Linked DNA regions of Homo sapiens: all the other regions are linked to region 2. The links are contacts of gene promoters, found by promoter capture Hi-C in blood cells and fetal thymus (Javierre and others, 2016). All regions are on one chromosome and are shown on one strand. The core of a region is centred on a gene start or on the middle of the fragment in contact, and the rest is flanking DNA. Distances in the headings are between cores, read along the strand shown. Region 1 overlaps LOC124904438 (a long non-coding RNA gene). Region 2 holds the start of PEX19 (peroxisomal biogenesis factor 19). Region 3 has its middle 26 kb from the start of CD84.

The links. The method cuts DNA at HindIII sites, captures the fragments that hold promoters and counts their contacts. A CHiCAGO score of 5 or more calls a contact.
Region 1: a contact is called between a fragment that was not itself captured here and the fragment with the promoter of PEX19 in region 2, in 1 of 17 cell types (erythroblasts). The highest score is 5.2, in erythroblasts.
Region 3: a fragment that was not itself captured here is called in contact with the fragment with the promoter of PEX19 in region 2 in 1 of 17 cell types (fetal thymus); the score reaches 6.6 in fetal thymus.

The regions. Positions count from the first base shown.
Region 1 is chr1:159,945,836-159,948,535 of GRCh38, forward strand. It overlaps LOC124904438 (a long non-coding RNA gene), which reads left to right. Exons shown (of 3, transcript XR_007066684.1): 2 at 317-617. Among named protein-coding and RNA genes, the nearest start is that of IGSF9, 1.6 kb to the left of the region's middle. RefSeq lists a silencer at 1-58 and an enhancer at 1-401. The HindIII fragment of the contact is 1,462 bases long and covers 683-2,144 here.
Region 2 is chr1:160,283,747-160,286,446 of GRCh38, forward strand. PEX19 (peroxisomal biogenesis factor 19) reads right to left here and starts at 1,387. Exons shown (of 8, transcript NM_002857.4): 1 at 1,309-1,387. The coding sequence starts at 1,378. It overlaps LOC107985219 (a long non-coding RNA gene), which reads left to right and starts at 619. Exons shown (of 3, transcript XR_001738265.2): 1 at 619-1,109; 2 at 2,571-2,615. The HindIII fragment of the contact is 4,290 bases long and covers 1-1,521 here.
Region 3 is chr1:160,603,805-160,606,504 of GRCh38, forward strand. No RefSeq gene overlaps it. Among named protein-coding and RNA genes, the nearest start is that of CD84, 26 kb to the left of the region's middle. The HindIII fragment of the contact is 1,383 bases long and covers 673-2,055 here.

The sequences.
Region 1 (2,700 bases), core at 164-2,663, 340 kb before region 2:
AAGGCCGGTGGGCCGCTTCCCGCCGCCAGCAAGAGGGGCAGCAGGGTCCGGCTCGCGCTCCAGGGCTGCGGGAGCTGGCCCCTTGCCAGGCTACTGGTACGCCGTCCTTCTTTCGGAACCTACGGGCGACCCTCTCCGCTCCCCGAACGGGCGCGCCACAGAGGCGGCAGCGAGGGTTGAAATCTGAGCCTGGGGGTAGGAGAACCAGGCGGGGAGCATGACTCCCCGCCCTCCTCCCAGGGGATCCACCCAGGTCCCGGGCTCATCCGATCTCCTCCCCCATCCCCATTTCTACCTCCACCCATTGCTTCTCTAGCAGGACTGGAAATACCTGTCTGCATTGGCGAGCTCCCAAATCTTGCCCAGGCGCCTCCCACCGTGTGCAGCTGAGGAAGGCTGTGCTCTGAGCGTGGGGTTGCCAAGTCAGCTCCCAAGGCAGCTCTGGCACCAACGACCCAGAGAAACAGGCCCAGAGGGGAGAAACGACAGATATCCTGACACGGGAGATTGAAAGGGAGGAATGAAATACAAGATCACTTACTGGACCCATGCAGGGTGCCAGACCCTGGACTAGATGCTTTATAACTCTTGTGTAACCTTCACAGAAACCCTGCGAAGTAAGTAGAGCTCCCTTTGACTAATGAGAAAACTGAGGCTCAGGGAGATGAAGTAACTTGGCCCAAGCTTTCCCAACTAGGTTATGGCAGAGCTGGATTGAGACCCAACCCAAACTTCATCAAACCTACTCCCTTGGAGGCTTCGCCCTCAGACACAAAGATATCTTGCATATCTTGCCCCTCAGAGATTCCACCTCCTCAGCCTGGTGATGCTGTAGGGATGCTGGGTCGGCTTAAGCAACATTGCCTGTCCAGGTCCTTCCCATTCAGTTGGCTCCCTTGGAAGCCTTCCATGAAAGCAACGTGCTGATCTCATCCCAATCCGAAGTACTAAGACTCAAACTGAGTGCACCAGGCATCAGACTCACAGAATCACTGCTGCAGCATCATGAGAGAACCTCCAGGATGGGCCTAAGCACTACTTGGCCCCAGAATCCCTGGCACATCATTTCTCCATGTAGTCATCCAAGCCCCTATCTCATTACATCCTGGGCCAGGAAGCTCAGCACTACTGTTGTACCCATTCCATCCTTAGTAAGCTCTGCCTGCTGGACAGTTCTTCCAGGTGTAAAGGTTTTAGTGCTTTTGGGTGACTGAGATGGAAGGGAAGAGGCAGGAGCAGTGGGCCAGTCTCTCCCACCATCCCTCCTGCAAATAGTCCCAAAGTAGCAGCTTTTCAACAATGCATTTCAACATAATACCCTGATCTATTGATAAGACTATAATGGAAACATGTTAATGAATGCAGCATGGAAGCAAGGCTAGAAGAAATGGTAAAAGAGTGAAGCGGGTTTTTTGTTTGTTTGTTTTTTTGTTTTGACAGAGTCTCACTCTATCGCCCAGGCTGGAGTGCAGTGGTGCAATCTCGGCTCACTGCAACCTCCACCTCCCGGGTTCAAGCGATTCTCCTGCTTCAGCCTCCCAAGCAGCTGTGATTACAGGCGGCCACCACCATGCCTGGCTAATTTTTGTATTTTTAGTAGAGATGGGGTTTCACCATCTTGACCAGGCTGGTCTTGAACTCCTGACCTCATGATCCACCCACCTCGGCCTCCCAAAATGCTGGGATTACAGGTGTGAGCCACTGCCCCCGGCCGAGCCAAGTGTTTTTTAGTCTTTGGATCTTTACCAATCATTGGGAAGGATCTCCCTCCCCGCTGTTAGAATTGGCCACACCTTTGATCTAAACTGCTGTCTCCAGTGGTTTCTTGAGGATAAACTAATCTCATTTAGACATTAAAATAACTTTCTGTTAAATGACATTTAAAATGGTTTTCAATTTTTAAAAGTTTATGATATGGCCTTTTTTTTCTGGAAACTTATTTTGTGACTTTTATTGTTATTGCCATTTTTTGTCTGATTTATATGTATATTGGAGATTTTTTGTTAAGAAAAGGAACCTAGCCCTATAACTTGTTCCCTCACTGTGCCAGGAGTGAAAGCTGATTTAAAAAATAGTCCCTGAGGTTCAAAACAAAAGACTTTCCTCTAGGTTGTCCTTGATTCATAGTCATTACTCTCTGGGAAAGCTTATTCAACCAACGAGGATTCCACCTAACCTAAGTATCAGGCAGCCCCCATATTTTCAAATTGCTGACAAGGATATCAGAAAATATTCTCTCTCTCCCCCTCCTCCTCCTCCTCCTCTTCTTCCTCCTTCTTCTCCTTCTCCTGCTTTCTTCTTTCCTCTTTCCTCCTCCTCCTCCTTCTCCTCCTCCTCCTCTGCTGCTGCTTTTCCTCCTCCTCCTCCTCCTCCTCCTCCTCCTTCTCCTTCTTCTTCTTTTCTCTCTCTGTCTCTCTCTCTGTCTCTCAGAGCTGGGGTATTCTCCTCCTCTTGCCTTTGAACATCAAAACTCCAGGCTCTCCAGACTTGGGACTGTGAGTTATACCATTGGCCTCCCTGGTTGTGAGGCTTTTGGAGTTGGACTGAGCCACACTTTTGCCATCCCAGGGCCTTCTTTGTGCATGTTGTAGGACTTGGCCTCCACCATCATGTAAGCCAATTCCCCTAATAAATCCCATCTCATATTTCTATATCTGTATCTATCTATCTTATTGGTTCTGTCTTCCTGGTGTATACCTA
Region 2 (2,700 bases), core at 137-2,636:
ACTTTCCTCAATTTTCCTCCTTGAGTCCCCCACCTCCCCAGACCACCCTCAATGAGCCTCCTACTTCCTTCTGGATTACCTAATTTATTGTGAGCAAAGGCAAAGAAATCCCTTAAGGTGGAACAAATGTCCATCTCAGAGCTGGGAGGAGAGGATTAAAAAGTTCTGCAGAGACATCTCCATCTATAGTGTCTCCCTTGCCACACCCTAACGATTCCCTAGAAATCCCATACAAATACCCAACAGTAGTAGAGAACACAGATGTCCTCATCCCTCTGAACTCACTCTGGAGCTCTAAAAGGAATAACTTGGTGAGAAAGCACAGGACATCCCACCCAGCTTCCTGTTGGTACTGGTACCAGCACAGACTGAGGGACTACATACCAGACTCCATGGTACGGCATTAAACTATCTTCTCTTATTCTCCAGTTTAGTGCTCCCCAACAACCTTCTAGAGCTCCCTTTGGCCTGATCTCTGCAGATAACCGTACACTAATTTACACAGTCACTTGGCACTCCTCAGGGTTTCTGTTCATTTTTCTGCCTGCCCACATCTCCGTGATTGAGCAAGCGATTACAAATTCACCTCTGCCCTGAAAAGCCTGTGTCCTCACCACCATTCTGTTCGCCAGGCCTAGGGAGAGAGCACTGGCCCTACTCTGGGCAGGAAGTCAACAGGGGAGTGGAGAGTAATGCTAAGAAAACATCCCCCGTCTTTCAGGAGGGTGAACTGCTTTCCCCTGAAATCGCCACATCCTCAGTTTCTCAAAATAAGGGAAAGGAGTCCGCTTGAGCTACTGACAAGATGAAAGAACTGTTAAGGGGCCTAACGAGAGAAAGAGAAAAGGACTAGGAGGAGAAAAGTGTCTTTCGTGTTAAGGAAGACAGGACGAGGCACACAAGGACCGGCCACGAGCTTGCTAGGAGTTAATGTAAGCAATCAGTGAGTGCGTAGTTCGCTACCCAGCAAGAACCAAATGCTGCTGCTGCTGCTACTGCTGCTGAAGTCGAACTTTAAGAACTCAGTAACCTAAAGAGGAGTTTGAAGAGGTATCATGAAACGCCGTCCTGCGGAAACATCCACCATCCGGACCACTGAGGGACCCCAGGTGAGCTCCCCAGCTCCAGTCGCCGGGGTGGGGCAGGATGACCCAGAGATTTTTGGGGGGCTCGGGGGTCAGACTCTCCGCCCCCATTTAACCTTTGGAGAGCCTCTCCTGCCCGTCCCTAATATCTCAGGTTCACTTAACCCCCAGAATGGGTCCTCACACGTGCCCTCTTCGGGCCTTTCCCACTATGGGCTCTTACTTTCCAGAAGCTCCTCCAATTCCCTGTCCGCTTCGGCCCCGACACTACAGCCTTCCTCAGCGGCGGCCATCTTGCTACCTCCGACTTGCCGTAGGAGGCGGGACCTCCTCGGTGCCGACACGCCCTCCACCCCTTCGCTCCCGCCCTCTTCTGCCTCGGGTAACCAATGGTATTGTTGACCAGTGCGGAACCGCCATTTTTAAAGGGCCAGGAAGCTTTGAGTGTTTGTGTTTTGGGTATTTTTCCCTTTTCTCCTGTGAAACAGAATTAGGGATAAGATAGGGTTATTTTCTGTCTGGTTTTAGAGGCCCGGACTCCTTTCTTTCAACTTCCCAAATTACCTGGCGAAGCTCTTTCATTATTTTTTCCTGAGCTGTGAGTAGGCCAGATTGAGACAAACTGCCTACAAATAACCAGAATCTAAACATATATAATTGATATGACAATTATGGCACATAACATACTACTTTCTCTCACTTCATTTTTTTTTTTTTATTTTTTTTTGAGAAGGAATCTTGCTCTGTCGCCTACGCTGGAATGCAGTGGCGCCATCTCGGCTCACTGCAGCCTTGGCCTCCCGGGTTCAAGCGATTCTTCCTGCCTCAGCCTCCCGTGTAGCTGGGATGACAGGCGCGCGACACCACGTCCGACTAATTTTTGTAGAGACGGGGTTTTAACATGTTGGCCAGGCTGGTTGGCCAGGCTGGTCTCGAACTCCGGACCTCAGCTGATCCGCCCACCTCGGCCTCCCGAAGTGCTGGGATTACAGGCGTGAGCCACTGCGCCCGGCTTCACTTCATTGTTTCCCTCAAATATTATCTTTTCTGAAACGCTTTCCTTGGCCATTCCCGTTCCTTTTCTTCCTAACACTGAACAGTATCTGACATACTATCTACCGTACTTTTTTATTCTCCGCTCCCCACCCTGCAGAATTTAAACACCATGAACGCAAAGATTTTCGTCTGTTGTCTTCACTGCTGTAAAGCCCAACTCCCAGGCTAGGGTTTAAAACTTAGTAGGCATTCATTGGCCACTCTTTGCTCTCGCAGTCCCTAATCAGGCACATCTGTCTGCCCAATCTAGTGGCATCTCTCATTTCCTATTATCTATTAGAACTGTTTGATTAAAGGACACAGGGCCGGCCAGGAACTTAGAACTCCATGTTATTAAGAGAGCCTCTGGTACCTTGGACTGAGCAGGGCAATTCGAATGCAGTAGTAATAGACTTACTTTCCCTGAACAATCTCCTTTTCTCCACACAGAACCCAACCTCCAACTGAGTGAACACGGGGAATGCTCAGATAGAGGTAACTCTAGACGTCCCTTTCCTCCTTTGGAATTGTTCTATTCAGATGTCAGAATGTAGCAACTGTTTCACATACAAATCTGTTT
Region 3 (2,700 bases), core at 114-2,613, 320 kb after region 2:
AGCCCCCCACTATTATTGTGTTCCTATTTCATTTCTTACATCTAGCAGTGATTGTCTTATAAATTTGGGAACTCCAGTGTTAGATGCATATATATTTAGGATTGTAATATTTTCCTGCTGGACTAGTCCTTTTATTGTTATGGATTGTCCCTCTTTGTCTTTTAAAACTATTCTTGCTTTAAAGTCTGTTTGGTCTGATATAAGAATAGTTACTCCTGCTCAGTTTTGTGTCCATTTGAATGCAATATATTTTTCCACCCCTTTACCTTAAGTTTATGTTAGTCCTTATGTGTTAGGCAAGTCTCTTAAAGACAGCAGATACTTGGTTGGTGAATTCTTATTCATTCTGACACTCTGGATCTTGTAAGTGGAGCATTTAGGCCATTTACTTTTAATGTCAGTATTGAGATATGAGGTACTATTCTATTCATTGTGCTAGTTGTTGCCTGAATTGCTTGGTTTTTTTTTTCATTGTGTTATTGTTTCATAGGTCCTGTGAGATTTATGTTTTAAGAAGGTTCTATTTTGGTGTATTTTGAGGTTTTGTTTCAAGATTTAGAATTCCTTTTAGCAGTTCTTATAGTGCTGACTTTGTAGTGGCAAATTCTCTTGGTAGTGATACATTCAGCATTTGCTTGTCTGAAAAAGACTTTATCTTCCCTTCATATATGAAGCTTAGTTTTGCCAGATACAAAATTCTTGGCTGATAATTATTCTTTTAAGGAGGCTAAAGTAAGGATAATTACTTAGTTTAAGGATATGAAAGATAGGACCCCAATCCCTTCTAGCTTGTAGGATTTCTGCTGAGGAATCTGCTGTTAATCTTATAGGTTTTCCTTTATAGGATACCTGATGCTTTTGCCTCACAGCTCTTAAGATTCATTCCTTCATCTTGACTTTAGATAACCTGATGGTTTAGATTACCTAAACCTGTGTGTTTAGGTAATTATCTTTTTGCAATGAATTTCCTGGGTGTTCTTTGAGTTCCTCAGGAACACAAATTATTCTTAGGTTTGGTCATTTAACATAATCCCAAATTGGCTGGAGGCTTTGTTCATTAAAAAAAACTTTTTTCTTTGTCTGTGTTAGATTGGATTAATTCAATAGCATTGTCTTTGAGCTCTGAGGTTCTTTCTTCTACTTGTTCCATTCTATTGTTAAAACTTTTCAGTGTATTTTGCATTTCTCTAAGCATGTCTTTTATTTCCAGAAGTTCTTATTGTTTTTTATTTATAATATCTATTTCTTTACAGTGTTTTTGTCCATATCTTGTATTATTTTAAAAATTTCTTTAAGTTGGTTTTCACCTTTCTCTGGTGCCTACTTGAGTAGCTTAATAATCAACCTTCTGAATTCTTTTTCTGGCAATTCAGAGATTTCTTCTTGGTTTGAATCCATTACTGGTGAGCTAGTGTGATCTTTTGGTGGTGTGATAGAACTTTGTTTAATTATATTGCCAGAATTGTTTTTCTGGTTCTTTCTCATTTGGGTCAATTATGTCAGAGGAAAGGTCTAGGACTCAAGGGCTGCTGTTCAGATTCTTTTGTCCCACAGGGTGATCCTTTGATGTGGTGCTCTCCCCTTTCCCCTACAGATGGGGCTTCCCAAGAGCTGAACTGCAGTGATTGTTATTGCTTTTCTGGGTCTAGCCACCTAGTGGACCTACCAGGCTCCAGGCTGGTACTGGGGAGTGTCTGCAAAGAGTCCTGTGTTGTGATCTATTTTCAGGTCTCTCAACCACGGATACGAGCACCTACTCCAGTGAAGGTAGCAGGGCAGTGAAGTGGATTCTGTGAGAGTCCTTGGTTGTAGTTTTGTTTAGTGCACAGGTTTTCTCAAATGCTGGTTATGCTAACAGTGAAGTTGTCACATGGACAGACTCAGGACCTCTGGTTAGCCAGGACGTTACAAGTGGTGGAATTAGCTGTTGTTTTCTCCTTCCTTGGAGCAGGGCTATTTTGTTATGAGTTGCTATAATGGCTTGACTTGATTGGCCTCCAGCCAGAAGGTGGCGATTTCAAGAGAGCATCAGCTGCAGCAGTACGGGGGAATACAAGCTTGCCCTAAGGTCACCTGGATAAGTATTTGGGTTTCTCAGGTGATGGGAGGGCCATAGGGCTCCCACAAGATTATGTCTTTTGTCTTCAGCTACCAGGGCTGGCAGAAAAAGACCATCAGGTGGGGGCAGAGTTGAGCATGTCTGAGCTCAGACTATCCTTGGACAGGGCTTGCTGTGGCAACTGTGCGGTATGGGGGTGTGGTTCTCAGGCCAATGGAGTTATGTTCCCAGGGGGATTATGGCTGCCTCTGCTGCTTTGTACAGGTAGCCAGGGAAGTGGGGGAAAGCCAGTGGTGACAGGCCTCTCCCCACTCCCACACAGCCAGCAAGGCCAGTCTCACTCCTGCCATGCTCCCCAAAGAGCCAAATTTATATCCAAGCCTCTGGTATGCAGGGCTGGGATGTTGCCCTGGGATACTAGCCTCTCTGCTGAGAAGGCAAGCAGGGCTTTCAGGCCTCACCCCTCCCTGCCTGCTGTGGCTTCTGTGCTCATATCTGCACTTTCTATTCATCTCCACAGATCCTGACCAGGACAATTCGTACTCAGTCAAAATTATTACAAAGTTCAGCTGGAAGTTTCCTTCTCCCTGTGGCCCTTCCCCAATCCCACTGGCAGCCCTCCCCAAGGAACCCTGTGAGAT